Linked DNA regions of Homo sapiens: all the other regions are linked to region 1. The links are contacts of gene promoters, found by promoter capture Hi-C in blood cells and fetal thymus (Javierre and others, 2016). All regions are on one chromosome and are shown on one strand. Each heading gives the region's core, a stretch centred on a gene start or on the middle of the fragment in contact. The rest is flanking DNA. Distances are from core to core; before and after follow the strand shown. Region 1 holds the start of PTPN13 (protein tyrosine phosphatase non-receptor type 13). Region 2 overlaps C4orf36 (chromosome 4 open reading frame 36). Region 3 has its middle 19 kb from the start of AFF1-AS1. Region 4 has its middle 5.0 kb from the start of SLC10A6.

Region 1 (4,459 bases), core at 1,771-4,270:
GCCTGGTAAGTTGAGGCAGCAGTGAGCCATGATCGAGCCACTGCATTCCAAACTGGGCAACAGAGACCCTATCTTAAAAGCTATCTTTAAAACATTTAGTTCCTAAGTTATTTGACCCATTTTAATTTTCAAATTAAAAGAGAGTTTTTCAGGGAAAAAAAAAAAAAAGGAAGCCCAGCCCAAAAGATTCTCGTCATTTCCATCAGCACTGATTCTTCTATCCTAAGGCCCATTATCTTTTCTCCTTTCTCAGGCCCCTACCTTGTAAAGTGATATTAACTCAAATGAGTCGTACTTGGTTGCATCAGAGGCAAACAGGAGAATACTTTGAACTACACAGAGTTCTCCCAAAGCATATTCCAAAACAAGAATATGTTGACAGGAGTAACTACTAAATGCACTGGCTTGGAGTATGGTTGTGTTTCTTTTTCATTTCAAATGGTGTTAATTATAATTTAATTATGCATAAAAATGTTTTGGGGTTTATTTAAAAATTACACCCTCTGTCAAAAGAAGAGGGTGAAGAGGAAAAAAAAGAAGTAATAGTTTATCCCTTACAGTCCTTCTCTCCAGTACATTTGGGGCTGGGCACTAAGATGAGCTGGAAAAATATACACCCCATTGATACGGGAGAAGCTACAACACTTCCCCATCCAATCCTTAACACATTAAAGACAGAACAAATCAACACCCGTTTTTCTCAATAACAAAGAATACATAAATTTCATTCATTTAAAGATGAACACCTATCATTTATATTATCTACTCCAAAACAAATGATTAGCTAATTCTCACATTCACATACCGTATTTAGGAGGCAGCCCTCAAAAACAACAACAAAAAGATGACCTAAGTTTTATAACGTGACCCCATCATAGAATTAAAATCTGACTTTTAAATTGACACTGGTTTTAATGGTGTGCGTGTATGTTACTTGTGACATGAAAAGCCATTTATATTTTTGGATGCTGGTAATCACCCTCCAAAATATAACTAGGCTTTACATGCAAGTAAAAATGGTGGGACAAATGCAAATTCAAAGATAAACCTACATAATGGTAAAGCAAGCTATCATTCTCTAATTGTAAAAGTGAAAAACACTATGAAATCAGTCCTTTTCTTAACAACTAACCTCAAATATTTTTCTGTTTTTAGTTCTAATTTCCATCCTATCCTCTCCCCACACATACTCCCACAAAGCCTCTAGAACATCAAGTAGAACACAATGTTATGAACAAAGTATAATAAACAAGATTGGACGTCAGTCAGTGCGCCTCTGTATAAATTTACTAAATCAATATATGTATGAATTTACTAACAAATGCTCCTAGTGATATTAAAACGAGAAATAATTTGTATATTGGCACCACTACAAGCAGCCAATGAGCATGAAGCAAGTTTTCACCTGGACCCTGCCAACACAGTCATGAAGACTTTAGGAAAATACCTAAGCTTGTTTCATAATACATGCACTTTTACTCCCCCCCCCATCCTTTAGTAAACTTTCTAGATATAAATTTTAAAATCTTAAAATTTATAATTAGTTACCAGCGCCCTTCATCCCACAGATCAGGTGTCCTACATTTTGTTCAGGTCCTGCCTTGAAAACAAACCCGATTGCCCCATTTTCTGCGAGGGAGCTCAGCTCCAGGCAGCTCCCTATGAAGTCACCGCGTTTGTTGTTTCAAAGATGCAATTAAATGAAAATGACACAAGGCTGTCGAACAGATTAGTTGGAAGTGTGCGGTGGTGTCGATCATATACGTGTATGGCCAATGAAAACTGTATTGCTGTAAATCTCTTAGTGATATTTCTCCCCATCCTCCTCTCTCCATTATATTCACAACAGAAGGAAATTAAACTTTGTAAGAATTTTCTTGACTTTGGTTTAACTTTAGCTTCCCAGCTGTCTGCTCTTACAGTATCACGTAATGAGCAAAGCGGTGGGGCTAGGGGGCCGGAGGGTAGAGTGTTAACTTTAGCAAGCAGAAGAAAAGCAATAAAAGACCTTGCATCAGACAGTGTCTCTCCCTCTGCCCCCTCTTCCTCTGCTTCCCCGCCATCCCACCCCCTTCTCGAGCCCTTACACACACATTCTTCTGGGCGGCCTCTAACCACACCATCTCCACAATCATTTGCAGAAATTAGAAACAGACTCCGGGAGCCCTTCCCTTAAGCACGCACAGAGCGGAGCTGTGCAAGCACGACGGGGCAATGTCACTCCCTATTACCCCACAATCTCTTACTCCCCCTGTGGGTTTCATTCCCGAGAATCCGGCTTTCTTCCGCAGAGGAGATGGATCTACCTAATTAGCAATGGAGTTTCATCTCATTCTTCCCCACTCCAGTCACCCCACCCCCACTCTAACGTACAAAAACACCCACCACCAAAACCAAAGAAAAGTTCCTTCTACCAGGGCAACCGAGGAGTTGGGTTTAGGGACTGGAGCGAAAGCAGAGAGAGGAGGAAGAGAACGAGCGCAATGTACTTTGTTTTGCACTTCTGCACATGCAGCGCAGAGCCCAGGGCGGCTCTCGTCCTTACCGGCTGGTCCCGAGACCGGGTCCTGCTACTGGAGCGCCGGGCGAGGGCTGCAGGGACGCGGCGTCGGGGCGGGCCGCCGGCAGCCGCCGCGGGCGCCGAGAGCCACCACCACTTCTCCCACAAGCGGCTGCGGGCGTGGGCTGAAGGAGCTGTAGAAGGAGCCTGGGGAGGGGGAGAAGAGGAGCAGCATCTCCTCCTCCTCCTCCTCGCCTCGGAAACGCTCCCCAGCGGCGATCCCGGCCGACTGCCTGACCCCCGAGCGCTCAACGCACCCCCGCCGCCCTACTGTGCTCGACGCCTCTCCAAGAGCTTCGCCAAAACCTTCTGGCGCGGGCGGCTCAACTCCTGTAGGCGACTCTGACCGCTGCCGAGGCGGACCGGGGAGCTACGGAGCACGGCTCGCCAGCACGACGGTCTCCAGGGGCCGTGAGCATGGTGTGTCACCCTCGCCTCAGCGTGGCCGCTGGAGCTACTCGCACCACTGGGGCTCCACCTCGGGCAGCCGCGCCGGCTCCGCCCCCCCGGTCCTGTCACTCAACCATTCCCCGGCACTGGGAGGACCGCAGATCTCCCACCCCGAGCTCCCCTCGACCTCATTGGCCCGCCTGGCATCCAGCTCCACCTCCTCCCTAGGGACGAGGTCGCCAGGGAGACCAGCGCCCCGGTTGCCATGACAACCAGTGCCTTGGGCCTGGCTTTTCGCGTTCTTCGGACTAGCCAGAGGCTCAGGTTGGTGACCGAGCGGCAGAGTTCCTAGCGCCTGCAGTGTGGTGAACTCCAACTTTTAGGCCAAGTTGAAAATGCAGCCGACGACCCCCACACTTCTAACTTCAGAATCAAAACTATGACCCTAGGGAGTGAGGAGGAGAGTGAAAAATGCGTAAGTGCTGGCTCCTCCCTTACTCTTCGCTGCCTCTCAGCCTTGTTTCTATATTCTCACGGGGCGCTTTGGTCTTTGAAAGGAAGAGGAGAATGGGGGAGAGGAAGAGCATGGCTTTGCCAGCTCCTTGCAGCAATATAGCAACTTAGAAATGGCGGGGTCAACGAAAAAAGCCCGGTGAGTTTTCCCACGGTTGTAAAGCTATCTTCAAAAGTGTGGTGACAGCACAACGCCAAATGCCCTAGGGAAAACTGAAATTCTCATATTTTTGAAAAAAGTTTGTAAATACTTGCCTTGTTATTTTATCTATGAGACTAAAATAATCCCGAAGTTTGAAAATTTAAGGAAAAGGTTTAACATAGTCGATAACCTCCCACTTTTCTATATACACTGAAATTTGGCCAAGGTATATCCAGACAGCTGTACCCCTCCTTGCTGCAAGCCGAAATATTTGAGTTTCAATAGTTAAACAAGAGAGTCTTGCTGAATTCATGAACAAATAATATCCTGTGATTTGAGTTTTGAAAGTTTTGGGTTATTCTCAGAGGTATAAGGTAAACTGGTCCACTCTGGAAAGGGTACCTGAAGATAAATTTAGTCTGAGACCCTTAATGTTGAGCCCTAGGTAAATCTGAATTTCATGGCTGGCTCCAAAGTGGAGAGATCTGAGGCTTATTTGGCTTCCCCAAAAAAAGTCAAAGCAGCAATCCTAGGTTCCCTAGCCCCTGAGGCTGCCATACATGTATGATGAATGAGGGAATTAATAGTAATGATTTATCTTTGGCGAGCACTTGAGTTTTCATTATATCATTTACTAAATGAATAACTATGATAGATATCTTCAGTCAAATATGCCTTACAAGTATGCATTGAATGTGATTACTCATAGGGCTAAACACAACGGAAAATACACAGCAGGATTTTAAGCTAAGTCCCCGCTCCCAAGGAGCTAACCTGGAGCCTAAGAAAGAAAACTAGCACTCTTGAAACAATTTGAGAACAATTATAGCTAAAATGTGCAGCCAAACTTTGAG
Region 2 (4,539 bases), core at 1,577-4,076, 290 kb before region 1:
AAAAAATTCAGTCTTTTTCCTTCTGCCTAATTTCTTATTTTCTATCTGGAATGACCCTGAAGCATATGGAACACACATACTTGTGTGAAAGTGACATGAAAATACACAGAAGGTCTTATGAGGAAAACACAGAGTGGATGGGGGATGGGGAATTGATCAACTGGAAAGTATTGGATTTGGATGAATAATTTTTCTAGCATTTGAATCCAATAAAGCACACTTGGATATTAATGTTACATTTGAGCACAGTTTAGTATTTTTTAGATGATTCAGTAGGCATTTTAGGATCTTCTGGTATTTTTTTTTTCCCACCCAGGCTGGAGTGGAAGTTTCACTGTAACCTCTGCCTCCTGGGTTCAAGCAATTCTCATGCTTCAGTAACACGAGTGGCTGGGACTACAGGCATGCACCACCACACCTAGCTAATTTTTGTATTTTTTAGTAGAGATGGGATTTCACCATGTTGGCCAGGGTGGTCTCGAACTTCTGACCTCAAGTGATCTGCCCATCTTGGCCTCCCAAAGTGCTGGGATTACAGGTGTGAGCCACCGCGCCTGGCTGATCTTCTAGTATCTTAGCTTCATTTCATTATGAAAGGCACTGTGGCATACTGTTTAAGAATATAGACTTTAGACCTGGGTGCCTTTCTTCAAATCATAGCTCAGCTGCTTATTGCTGTGTGAGCTGGGATAAGTTACCTTGTTTCTGTGTTTGTTTTCTCATTTGTAAAATGGGGATAATACAGGTATACCTACTTCTTAAGATTAAATGAAAACTGCCAGGCACACAATGAGAATTACTCTAGTGTTAGACATTACTGTGAGTATCACTATCATTGTAATCTAGGTATAGAAGATATATTATATTGGGCTGATTCTCTTGATCTTTGTGCAGACCAGGAGTCTTGAAATTTAAAAAATTTGGTTTTATTCTTACAATATATATGTACTACTTGCCAAACTATCTGACCTGAATTTTTAGTTGAAAATATGGCCACTGTACCTATGGCAAATCCTGATCATTTCTCTTTAAAAATCATAATCCCTGATAATCAACTTGTCACTTATGTCTTTCTCTTAAAAGTAGCATGGAGAATTTGTGTGCAAAAATGTCACATCCTGATGTCCCCACTGTGTAACCCAGAAGCACAGATATCATTTTGTGGTCTGTCCTCTGGAGCCACCAGGGAGCCCTAAGCATGTCACACCTCACTCACAACCTGGCACTTTTAGTTAGTGGCATTAATTGTGGGTATAAGTAATATGCTTCCATCTGTTGTCCAAAAGACCATCAGGATGGCTAAATATTAGAAAGGAGAGTTTTATTGGTGATATCAGTTTGCGAATTGGGAAGAGAGTCTCTGAAGTGGACTGAAGGTGCTCTTTCTTCGAAGAGGGAAAGGGCAGGCTGGGTTTTAGGCCTCCCAGGGCGTGTATCACACAGTAAAGTAATACATATTCAGCAGGTTTTGGGGGGAAAGCTATACATATGTATGAAGGTAGTCAAGCACATGTGCAATGGGCAAACATATATGTAACATACTTCCCATGTTCACTTTGGGGTGGGGTTTTAGCATTAAAATAAGGTGGAGTTTGGCTCTATATCAAAAGTGAACTACAGGGCACAGACACAGTTCATGAGCAGCCTCTATAAGCTGGCAGAAACTGGCTTAAGGTCTGTAGTTGCTTTTCAGAAAAGAAGGTTTGTAAGGTTAGTCCTCTGCTCAATCAGAGTTGTAGTGGTGTGGGATGTAAATCAAGGTCAGGAGGGCTGTGATAGCTCCTGTTGTTATGGAATTTAGCAAGAGTGTGCTTTTTCTTCTAGGGGTAGGAATTTAGGAAGTTGTCATGCCAACTGAGCCCTGAGCCCTTGACACCATAATAATTTTTATTTCCTTAACCTTGTGGGCCATCTTAGTTGATAAAGAGGCATCTGTTCTGGTCTCTCAGATCACACATTCTTTTTCATAATGTTGAAAATGAATGAAACGTGTATCTGTAAAAAGTTTGCCAGAATAAAATATTTTAATATTCCTTGAGAAAAGATGGAATTTGAGAAAGCTTTGGTTCCTCATGATTTTCTTGAGAGAAGAGTCCTGCTTCCAGCTTTAAGATTCTCTTAATCATGATTTTAGGCAGGTGTTTCTGAACCTCTGAAAACTGCACATATTGAAATAAAATTACATTGCAAAATTCAGTAATATGTGTATATGTCTCTCCCTCTCTTGAAATGCCTTAAGAGCAGGAAAGGAATGCTTTCTTATGTTAGTGCTCCAATGCATAACTCATATAGGCACTCAATAGACGATCATTGATTGAAAATTTTCAGGGCCGGGCATGGAGGCGCACGCCTGTAATCCCAGCACTTTGGGAGGCTGAGATGGGTGGATCACCTGAGATCAGGAGTTCAAGACCAGCCTGGCCAACATGGTGAAACCCCGTCTCTACTAAAACTACAAAAAATTAGCCAGGCATGGTGGCATGCGCCTGTAATCCCAGCTACTTGGGAGGCTGAGGCAGGAGGAGAATCACTTGAACCCAGGAGGTGGAGGTTGCAGTGAGCCAAGATCACACCATTGCACTCCAGCCTGGGAGACAAGAGTGAAACTCCATCTCAAAAAAAAAAAAGAAAATTTCAGATGGTGAAAGATCCACAATAGAATGCACTTGATTGTTGCATTCTTATTTTTAATTTTTTTAATTAAAAGAATTTTTTTAGAGACAGGATCTGGCTCTGTTGCCCAGGCTGGGGCGTAGTAGCATGATCATTACTCGCTTCAACTTTGAACTCCTAAGTTCAAGCAATCCCAGCTACTTGGGACTATAGCTGCCTATGGTCCCACCATGCGTGGCTAATTTTTTTGGTATTCTTTTTAAGATAGGATACTTTTTAAAAATCAGGAGATAGCCATGATATGATTGAATATGGGACTAAAACAGTTCAAGACAAAGGTCAGAATGAACAAATATACCATTTTTACGTAAAACATTTTAAGGTTATAACAATTTAATTAAAACTGATAACAATTCAACTTCAGTGGCATGCAAAAATTCTACTTCTTTACATCTCCACTTTCCCCTACTTTGGTATTGATGTCAGAAATTACATCTTTCTATATTGTGTATTCATTAACATAATTTATAGTTATTTTTCATGCTTTTGTATTTTAGATTCTATGCCAAACTTAAAAGTGATCTACACAACAACATTACACTACTTACAATACTATAGAATTTTATATATAGATAGAGAAACCTTTTTTTTTTTTTTTTTGAGGCGGAATCTCACTCTGTTGCCCAGGCTGGAGTCGAGTGGTGTGATCTCAGCTCACTGCAACCTCCACCTCCTGGGTTCATGCAATTTTCCTGCCTCAGCCTCCTGAATAGCTGGGATTACAGGCATGTGCCACCATGCCCAGCTAATTTTAGTAGAGACAGGATTTTGCCATGTTGACCAGCCTTGTCTCAAACTCCTGACCTCAGGTGATCTGCCTGCCTCAGCCTCCCAAAGTGCTAGGACTACAGGCATGAGCCACTGCACCTGGCCTAATTCTACATTTTATCTACATATTTACCTTTATCAGAAAGCTTTATATTTTTCTATGGTTTTATGTTGCTGTCTAGTGTCTTTTTGTTTCAACTTGAAGGAGTCTCTTTAGTATTTCTTGTAGGGGTAAGGCCTAGTGGTAACGAACCTCCTCAGCTTTTGTTTATCTGGGAAAGTTTTAATTTCTTTTTAATTTTTGAAGGACAGTTTTGCCACACATAGTGTTGTTGGTTGGCAGTTTTTTCCCTTTTAGCACTTCAAATATATTACCTCACTCCCTTCTGGCCTGGAGGGTTTCTTTTATTTGAGACGGAGTCTCGCTCTGTCACCCAGGCTGGAGTGCAGTGGCGCAATCTTGGCTTACTGCAACCTCCAACTCCTGGGCTCAAGCAATTCTCTGCCTCATGCTCCCAAGTAGCACCACCACGCCTGGCTAATTTTGGATTTTTAGTAGAGACAGGGTTTCACCATGTTGGTCAGGCTGGTCTCGAACTCCTGACCTCAACTGATCTGTTCACCTTGGCCTCCCAAGGTGCTGGGAGTATTGGTGGGAGCCACCACACTTTGCCCTGGCCTGCAGGGTTTCTGCTAAAAAATCTGCTGGTAGGCTGGGCTCAGTGGTTCACACCTGTAATCCCAGAAGGTTGGGAGGCCAAGGTGGGAGGATTGCTTGAGACCAGGAGTTTAAGAACAGCTTGAGCAATACGGTGAGACCTCATCTCTACAAAAAATAAAAAGAAAATTATCCAGGCATGGTAGTGTGTGCCTATAGTCACAGTTACTCCAGAGGCTGAGGCAGGAGGATTGCTTGAGCCCAGGAGTTCGAGGCTGCAGTGAGCTATGATGATGCCACTGCACTCTAGCTTGGGTGACAGAGCAAGATCCTATCTCAAAAAAAAAAAAAAAAAGAAACAAAACAAACTGCTTATAGTCTAATAAGATCTCCCTAGTATGTGATGAGTCACTTTTCTCTTGCTGCTTTCAAGATTCTCT
Region 3 (4,412 bases), core at 111-2,610, 320 kb before region 1:
TATTTCTAATGGAAACATTTCTCCCTTGAGAACAAAAACTTTCACATCAGCAAGTCTTAGAGTTGCCAGGATAGGAAGAAACATTTTATAAGTGGGTTATTTGATACAGTAGTGAAAGGAGCCACTCTCACTCATACTCCTTGATTCCTGGACTCTTGTTCTGGCTGTGGAGGAGATGGCACTACATCACGGTCTCTGATTCAAAGCATATACTGCATCTTCCAAGTCAGAATCCGATCTTTAAAAGTGTGGTTTCACATCTGGCACTGCTGTGGTCTAAATGTTTATGTCCCCCCCAAAATTCATATGTTGAAATCCTTACCCCCAAGGTGATAGTATTTGGAAGTGGGGCCTTTGGGAGATGATTAGGTCAGGAGGGCATAGCCCTCATGAATGGGATTAGTGCCCTTAAAAATAAAAAAAGGACTGAGAGAGACCTGTCACCCCTTCTGCCATGTGACATTAGAGTGAAAAGAAGGCTGTCTATCCAGAAGAGACATCTCACCAGACACAGAAATGGATGGTACCTTGATCTTGCATTGCATAATGACATATTGGTCAATGACGGATGGTCCCATGTGATTACAGTAGAGTTGAAAAATTCCTATACCTACTGATAGTGCAACACATTATCTTTTCTATGTTTATACAAATACTTATCATTTCAACTGCCAATAGTATTCAGTACAGTAACATGCTGTAAAGGTTTGTAGCCTAGGAGGAGTAGGTTATCTCACATGGCCTAGGGGCGTAGGAGGCTATACCATCTAGGTTTGTGTAAGCACAGTCTAAGATGTTCACAGTGACAAAATCAGCTAACAACACACTTCTTAGAAGGTATTCTTGTTTTTATGTGATACATGACTAAATTCCTTCTTTCCTTCCTTCCTCCTTCCTTTCTCTTTCTCTTCTTCCCTCCCTCCCTTCCTCCCTCCTTCTTTCCCTTCCCTTCTCCTTCCTCCCTCCCTCACTCTCTCTTCCTTCCTTACTTTTCTTTCTCTTTCTCTCTCTTTTCTTTCTTCTTTTTCTCTTTCTTTCTCTCCCTTTCTTTTTCTTTATTTCTTTCTTTTCTTTCTTTCTTTTTCTCTTTCTCTCCCTTTCTTTTTCTTTCTCTCTCTCTTCCTCTCTTTCTCTCTCCTTCCTTCCTTCCTTTCCTTCCTTCCTTCCATCCTTTCCTTCCTTCCTTCCATCCTTCCTTCCTTCATCTCTCTCTCTCTCTCTTCCTTTCTTTATTTCTGTCTTTCCTCTTTTTTGAAGACAGGGTCTGATTCTGCTGCCCCGGGTGCAGTGAAGTGGCATGATCATAGCTCACTGCAGCCTCGAATTCCTGGGCTCAAGGGATTCATTCACCTCAACCTCCTGAATAGCTAGGGCTGCAGGCACACGCCACCAAGCCCAGCTAATTTTGTTATTTTTTTTGTAGAAATGGTGTCTTACTATGTTGCCCAGGCTGGTCTCGAACTCCTGGCCTTAAGAAATCTTCCCACCTTGGCCTCCCAGTGTTGGGATTGTAGGCTTGAGCCATCACACCCAGCTGTGATTGTAAATTTCTCTTGTTTATAACCACCTAGTCCATAGTATTTTCTTACTGGAGCTCAAACAGACTAAGACAGGCAGCATAAATGAGTTTTCAGTAAGCAATTTTGCCTTTAAGTTAGGGGAGCCACTTCTAGATGATGCAGTATCCGCATTCTATAGACATGAGTTCACTGCTGTATTCCCATTACCATGAAATGAGTTTCTTGAGCAGAAGCAGTGCTCTGTGGAATACCATGATGGTGGACAAGGTATTCTATGAGTCTGTGGAGGTTCTGGCAGAATCATTATGAATAGAAAAGGCATTTATACCCAGAATATGTGTCAATTCTAATGAGAATGAATTTCTGCCCTCTCAGTAATGGAAGAGTTCCAGTATAATCAGCCTGCTACCAGACAGCTGCTAATCATATGGCAATGGTGCCATATCAGGGGTCAGTGTTGGCATCTGCTGTTGGCAGATAAGGTGCTCAGCAATAGTGTCAGCCTGGCTAATCTTGATTAGGAGCTTCAGGAGAAGCTGTTGTTGAGTCCATGTCTAGCCTCCATTCCTGCCATCATGACCACTTTATTCATGTGCCCATTGAGTAAACATTAAGTGTCCGGAAAAAGTTTTTTTTTTTTTTTTTTTTGCATCCACATAGTATGTCATTTTGTCCTTTTGGTTATTCAGAGCATCCTCTGCTGTGAATTTCCCTTGATGAGCATTCACATAGACACACGTCTTTGTAGTCTATGTCCTTTCCAAGAGGTGCATCAACATACCTATTCCCCATACTTCTTTGTCACCAGTGTTTCAATCTTCTTCCTTTCTTGACCATCCAACCAAATTCTTAGCAACTGCACATAAATCAATGGAAGTACATACTTCTGTCCTCTTGTTCCAGACAAAGTAGATGTATTACTTTCCTAGGGCTGCTGTAACAAATGACCACAAACCAAGTGCCTTAAAGCAACAGAAATGTATTGTCTCATAGTTCTGGAGGCCAGAAGTCTGAAAGCAAAATGTCATCAGGCCATGCTGTCTCTCAAGCCTCTAGGGGAGAATTGTTCATTCCCTCTTCCTAGCTTCCGGTGGTTGCTGGCACTCCCTGGTGTTCCTTAGCTTGTAGACATATCACTGCAACCTCTGTCTCCATCATCACATGGCATTTTCCTTGTATATCTGAGTCCAAATTTCCCTCTTCTTTTTTATTTATTGTTTTCTTTTGAGACGGAGTTTCAGTCTTGTTGCCCAGGCTGGAGTGTAATGGTACAATCTTGGCTCACCGCAACCTCCGTCTCCTGGGTTCAAGTGATTCTCCTGCCTCAGCCTCCCAAGTAGCTGGGATTACAGGCATGCACCACCATGTCCAGCTAATTTTGTATTTTTAGTAGAGATGGGGTTTCTTTCTCCATGTTGATCAGGCTGGTCTTGAACTCCCAACCTCAGGTGATCCACCCCCCTCGGCCTCCCAAAGTGCTGGGATTACAGGCGTGAATCACCGTGCCCAGCCTTCCCTCCTTTAAGTACATCAGTCATTGAATTAAGGCCCACCCTAAAGCCATATGACTTCATCTTAACTTGATTACATCTGCCATGACTCTATTTCTGAATAATCACATTCACAGGTTTTGGGTGGACATGGAAGTAGCCTGATGTGAAGAGTCAGAACCTAAGGGGATTAGGAGGATATCCATTCATGGAAATGGCCCAGCACTGGTGCTGGAGCCCAAGAAAGGAGAGGAAGTCATCCATACATGGGAGCAACCTGGTGTGGGGAGTCAGAACTGGAGTGGGTGATGGAGGGTGCTTATACAGGGGGGCAGCTCAGAGAACACAAGAGCACAAATGGCATGGGAGGGCTTTCACCCACGAGCCTACGGTGGCCTAGTATTGCATATCAGAATACAATGGGGTGAGGAGGATGTTTGCATGGGGAGGGAATGAAAGAGGTGATGGGAGGTTGGTCATATACAGGAAGATTAATATATTCAGGTAAACTAATATGTCAAAGATAATGAGGGTCAGGTTTCTCACTGTCAGAAAAGGGATTAAAGTATAGAAATAGAGAAAATTAGTCATCGGTCCCCGTGGTGGGCCTGTTTGCATTGACTGCCCAGAGTCCATGAATCCTCCACTCCAAGCCCGTCCGGACTCCCCCGACCCCAGCTTTCTCTCCTTTGAAAACACTAAGAATAATGTCACTGCACCAGTTTTTATTAGAGCCAATCACCTATCGTGCCTGGAACAGGGATCATACCCAGATTGCCCTCAGTTCCAATAATCACCAAGTGCACATCTATAAGAAGAACGGAGCCGGGCGCTGTGGCTCACGCCTATAATTCCAGCACTTTGAGAGGCCTCGGCAGGTGGATCACGAGATCAGGAGTTCAAGACCAGCCTGGCCAAGATGGTGAAACCCCATCTCTACTAAAAATACAAAAATTAGCCAGGCATGGTGTGGCGGGCGCCTGTAATCCCAGCTACCCGGGAGGCTGAGGCAGGAGAATTGCTGGTACCCAAGAGGTGGAGGTTGCAGTGAGCTGAGATCGTGCCACTGCACTCCAGCCTGGGCGATAGAGCCAGACTCTGTCTCAAAAAAAAAAAAAAAAAAAAAAAAAAAGGAAGAAGAAGAACGGGAGCCGGGGGGTGAAAGCTCATGAACTCAAGGAGCACAACGGACATATCACAGGTATTGACTGGGCTCCCAAGAGCGACCGCATCGTCACTTGTGGGGCAGACCACAATGCCTATGTCTGGAGTCAGAAAGATGGTGTCTGTAAGCCAACCCTGGTGATCCTGAGAATTAACTGTGCAGCTACTTTTGTGAAGTAGTCCCCACTAGGGAACAAATTTGCTGTGGGAAGTGGAGCACGATTCATTTCTGTTTGTT
Region 4 (4,619 bases), core at 1,097-3,596, 260 kb before region 1:
ACCTAGGATGAGTGCTGGGAAATATTTTCTGTATTTAGGATCATGAATGTTTTAATCAGGTAATTACTTCAAAATAAAAGTTATTCAGACCTATAAATTAAAATACTACCCTTTCAGCCTGGATATTATTCTTTCAGAATGCCAGTTAACATGTTTTCCATGCACCTGTATTTAGACCTCGAAAGGCACATGAATTAAAGGTTTAGGGTTGGCAAGGTGAGTAGTAGTAATCAGGATGTGGTTTAGTTTGAGTCGCAAGAATAATAGTTTATACAAGTGAAACCCATGAACTTTTATTATTTTACTTTTCATATACAGTATAGGCTCAGGAGTCAACCTCTACCATCTTGCTGTTCTGTTTACTACCTTAGTCTGTGGTAAGTTGCTTAATTGCAATCAGCCTTTCTTCACTTATGGGCCAATGAAGGTAATAATGATACCTACTTGATAAGGTTGTTGGGAGGAGGATATGAATTACCTAAGGGACCTGCTACATGGAAGACCCTGTGATAGGTCCTCAGGTAATATGTTTAGGAAAGACTCAACAAATGGCAGTTATTATCGTAGAAAATCAGTATGAGTAATTTGCTCTTATGGCTGACAAACCCCATTAATCTCATTTATTACAACTTGTAATGCATTTTCTTCTCATAATTCTAGGATTTAAGTAGGCGATGAGAATTTATGTTTATAAGCTTAATAACATCTGATCTGATGAGCTGCAGTCAGAAAAGATTGTTGGGAAAAGGACCACAAATAATACTATAAATAGCATGCTACCAGTGCAGGGTAAACAAGTCTTTCCAGTTAGTTTTGTTGACAGGATACTTTGTTTTACCTTCTGGTCATTTTATCCTGAAGGTGGAGCAGGTGCCGTTTCAGGCTAAGCACTTTGCAGTCCCATCTACTACCCTTCTCCAGGTCCTGACTTGGCCTCTAGGTCCTGACTTGGCCTGTCCATTCTTCTCATGTCCTTGCATTTCATTTTCTGCAGGCATCACTTACTGGAAGCTTTGGTATTTATTAGGCTCCCTTGTAAAATCCTAAGAACAAAGACAATTGAGTCATCTCAACAGTCCAGCTCCTCATGGAGTCATCAGGATGTTATCAGCCTGTAGGAGTTACTGGAAATAACCACGACTCCTTCTATTTTTATTCCTTTTCCTTCAGTTCCTTTTTTCTCAATTATAAAAATGGTAATTGCTAGCCATTTCAAAGATAGCAGATAGTACAAAAAATATAAAGAAGAACAAATCATCACTAATTCAGCATACAGAAGCAATCATTATGAAAATTTTAGTGTTTCTCCATTTAGTTGCTTATTATTTTAACATGGCTAGGAGGATTCTGTTTGCCTATCGATAAGAAAAAATGATCATGTTTAATCTTGTAAATATTTCTCCTTGTTAAAATGTTTACTTTTTAAAAAGTTTTTTAAATTTTTATTTTTTGAGGCAGGATGTCACTCTGTCACCCAGGCTGGAGTGCAGTGGTGTGATCATGGCTCAGTGTAGCTTAGACCTCCCAAGCTCAAGTGATTCTTCCACCTCTTCCTCCTGAGTAGCTCGGACTACAGGTGCATGCCACCAGGACCGGCTAATTAAAAAAAATTTTTTTTGTAGAGACAGAGTCTCACTATGTTGCTCAGACTGGTCTAGAACTCCTGGGCTCAAGTGATCCTCCCACCTTGGCCTCCCAAAGTGCTGGGATTACAGGGGTGAGCCACTGTACCTCTCCCGCTTACATTAAAAAAAGCTCCATATCACCTCATTGTATGGTTGTACTATAATTTACTTAATCAGTCTCTCTTTGGACATTTAAGTTGGCCTAGTTTTCTGCTTTTATAAATATGCTGTTATAAATAGGAATGTATTTATAAATAACAATACTATTATAAATAGGAACATCCGCCCCAAAGAAATAATAAATCTTGGCTGGGTGCGGTGGGTCACACCTGTAATCCTAGCACTTTGGGAGGCCAAGGTGGGCAGATCACGAGGTCAAGAGATGGAAACCATCTGGCCAACATGGTGAAGTCCCATCTGTACTCAAAATACAAAAAAATTAGCTGGGCGTGGTGGCACCTGTAGTCCCAGCTACTCAGGAGGCTGAGGCAGGAGAATCACTTGAACCCGGGAGGCAGAGGTTGCAGTGAGCTGAGATCATGCCACTGCAATCCAGCCTGGCGACAGAGCGAAAAAAAATAATAAATCTTTGCCAATATTGAAGTTCGTTTATTAAAACATCTTCTTAATAAACAAAGGCTCTTAGTACATATTGCCAGACTTTACCCAGAAAGGTTTTATGAATTTTATTTCCCACCTGCAGTATATGAGAATGTATCTTTCACTCAACTCTTAAAAGCTGGGGATATTTACCTTAAAATTGCATATTCTTGTTGTTATGCAAAACATGTTATCTTATTTCACTGTACTTTAAAAAAAATTAGTAGTGATGGCCAGGTGCAGTGGCTTGCACCTGCAGTCCCAGCACTTTGGGAGGCCGAGGTAGGGGGATTGCTTAAGCCCAAGAATTCGAAACCAGCCTGGGCAACATGGAGAAATCCCATCTCTACAAAAAATATAAAAATTAACCAGGCATGGTAGTGTGCGCCTGTGGTCCCAGCTACCTGGGAGCTGAGGTGGGAAGATCACCTAAGCTCCAGAGGTCAATGCTTCAGTGAGCCATAATAGCACCATTGTACTCCAGCCTGGGTGACAGAATGAAACCCTGTCTCAAAAAAACAAAAAAAACTAAAAAAACTAGTGGTGATGTTGTCCTAATTTCTGTTTTCTTTTCTTCTTTTCTTTTCTTTTCTTTTTTTTTTTTTTTTGAGATGGAGTCTTGCTCTGTCACTCAGGCTGGAGTGGAATGGCATGATCTTGGCTCACTGCAACCTCTCACTCCCAGGTTCATGTGATTCTCCTGCCTCAGCCTCCCAAGTAGCTGGGAATACAGGTACCCACCACCACGCCCAGCTAATTTTTGTATTTTTAGTGGAGACAGGGTTTCATCATGTTGGTCAGGCTGATCTTGAACTCCTGACCTCAGGTGATCCTCCCACCTCAGCCTCCTAAAGTGCTGGGATTACAGGTGTGAGCCACCACGCCTGGCTGTTTTCTGCTGCTATAACAGAGTACCACGGACAAAGTAATTTATAAAGAAAAGATATTTATTTCGTTCATTGTTCTGGAGGCTGGGAAGCCCAAAATCATGGGCTTCCCAAAGGGTCACATCTGGCCAGGGCCTTCTTGCTGCATCGTAACATGTCAGAAGGCATCACATGGCATTCCCACTATAACGAACCCATTCTTCCCCACTATAACAGCATTCATCTATCCAGAGCCCTCATGACCTAATTACCTCTTAAAGGGCCCACTTCTCAACATTGTTAAAATGACAATTAAATGTCAACATGAGTTTTGGAAGGGACACTACAACCATGGAAGATGTTGATCACTTTTTTTCAAGTATTTTGTCTTTTTTTCTGGGAAGTGATAGTGTTTTTATTGTTGAGTTAAAAAAATACTGAATTTGGCTTTTTACCTTGTGTCATGTCTGAGTAAACAGTCTACTTTTTCCATTACTGCCAATTTCCTTTATATCTGTTTTGGATTTATCTCTCATGAATTTACGTAAACTCTTTTTGAACCTATAGGATTTTTCTGTCTTTCAAGCTTCTAGAAGTTTTACCCTGTGCTGCCTTTCAGAGCGTGGGAAACAGTTCCACAGCCAAGTCTGGTTACCTTTTCTTTTGGCACTTTCCCCTCAGACTTTACATTCCCAGCCTTTTCTGTTGGTTTTCCTGAGGAGTATCTTTCACCCCAAATTCTACTTACAGAGGCTGGAAGTACATGAAATACTTCCTGTGATTTGTAGAACTGGATCTCAAAATGAAGGTGCATACATATTGAACATATGTAGATGCCTTTTGAGTGTGTGAGAATAGAAGATAATGTTAGAGATTAGGGATTAGTTTATTTCTCCATCCTTAAGCCAAATAGTGGTGTTTTACCCCTGAGCTATGCCTAAGTGGTTGCCAGTCTTTTCCGCATGGTCTTGCTCTTGACTGCTTTTCATTGCTTCCACTTCAGTGTGCTCCAGGGAAGGAAACGAGGACAGGTGGAGAATTAGATTGAGATTTAAATCCCAATGTTATAATTTACCTGCTTAATAATCTTCGACAAATAATATGGCCCCAATGGGCCTTTGTTACTTCCTAGAATAAATGTGAGGATTAAGTGGGATCTCATAATCTGCCTCACTGGCTTGGGATGTAAAGTTGGTCATGCTTTTTAAAATTTTCTAATTAATCATTTGAATCTCTACTTACCAATAAGGGCAGGAAGTCTGCGATCCTGTATTTGAAATCTTCTTTACAAATTGACCGAGAACCCTAAGTGCTTACTCTTCCCAGGAAAATCTCCTTCCCATCTCCACTGGGGAGAAACTTGGAAAAGCCTGACCAGCCCGCTGGTAGGCCCTGGGATCACTGCGGTTGTTTCTGTTGGGACCTTTTGATGCATTGGCCCCACCCAGTCCAGTGGGCCTTTATCCATTGCCACCCTGTCCCTTCCGGTCCAGTCCTGGCACACAACATGGCGGTGTCCAAGCCTGGG

What was found. The method cuts DNA at HindIII sites, captures the fragments that hold promoters and counts their contacts. A CHiCAGO score of 5 or more calls a contact.
Region 2: a contact is called between a fragment that was not itself captured here and the fragment with the promoter of PTPN13 in region 1, in 1 of 17 cell types (megakaryocytes). The highest score is 7.9, in megakaryocytes.
Region 3: a fragment that was not itself captured here is called in contact with the fragment with the promoter of PTPN13 in region 1 in 1 of 17 cell types (megakaryocytes); the score reaches 5.3 in megakaryocytes.
Region 4: a fragment that was not itself captured here is called in contact with the fragment with the promoter of PTPN13 in region 1 in 1 of 17 cell types (megakaryocytes); the score reaches 5.9 in megakaryocytes.

What each region holds. Positions count from the first base shown.
Region 1 is chr4:86,592,876-86,597,334 of GRCh38, reverse strand. It overlaps PTPN13 (protein tyrosine phosphatase non-receptor type 13), which reads right to left and starts at 3,020. Exons shown (of 48, transcript NM_080683.3): 1 at 2,546-3,020. It also overlaps a transcript of MAPK10 not described here. RefSeq lists an enhancer at 2,783-3,369. The HindIII fragment of the contact is 4,151 bases long and covers 1,455-4,459 here.
Region 2 is chr4:86,879,767-86,884,305 of GRCh38, reverse strand. All of the region lies in intron 4 of C4orf36 (chromosome 4 open reading frame 36), which reads left to right. Among named protein-coding and RNA genes, the nearest start is that of C4orf36, 10 kb to the left of the region's middle. The HindIII fragment of the contact is 1,527 bases long and covers 2,063-3,589 here.
Region 3 is chr4:86,914,122-86,918,533 of GRCh38, reverse strand. It overlaps a transcript of C4orf36 not described here and the pseudogene ARPC1AP4. Among named protein-coding and RNA genes, the nearest start is that of AFF1-AS1, 19 kb to the left of the region's middle. RefSeq lists an enhancer at 3,047-3,546. The HindIII fragment of the contact is 8,282 bases long and covers 1-4,412 here.
Region 4 is chr4:86,852,096-86,856,714 of GRCh38, reverse strand. No RefSeq gene overlaps it. Among named protein-coding and RNA genes, the nearest start is that of SLC10A6, 5.0 kb to the right of the region's middle. The HindIII fragment of the contact is 2,666 bases long and covers 1,014-3,679 here.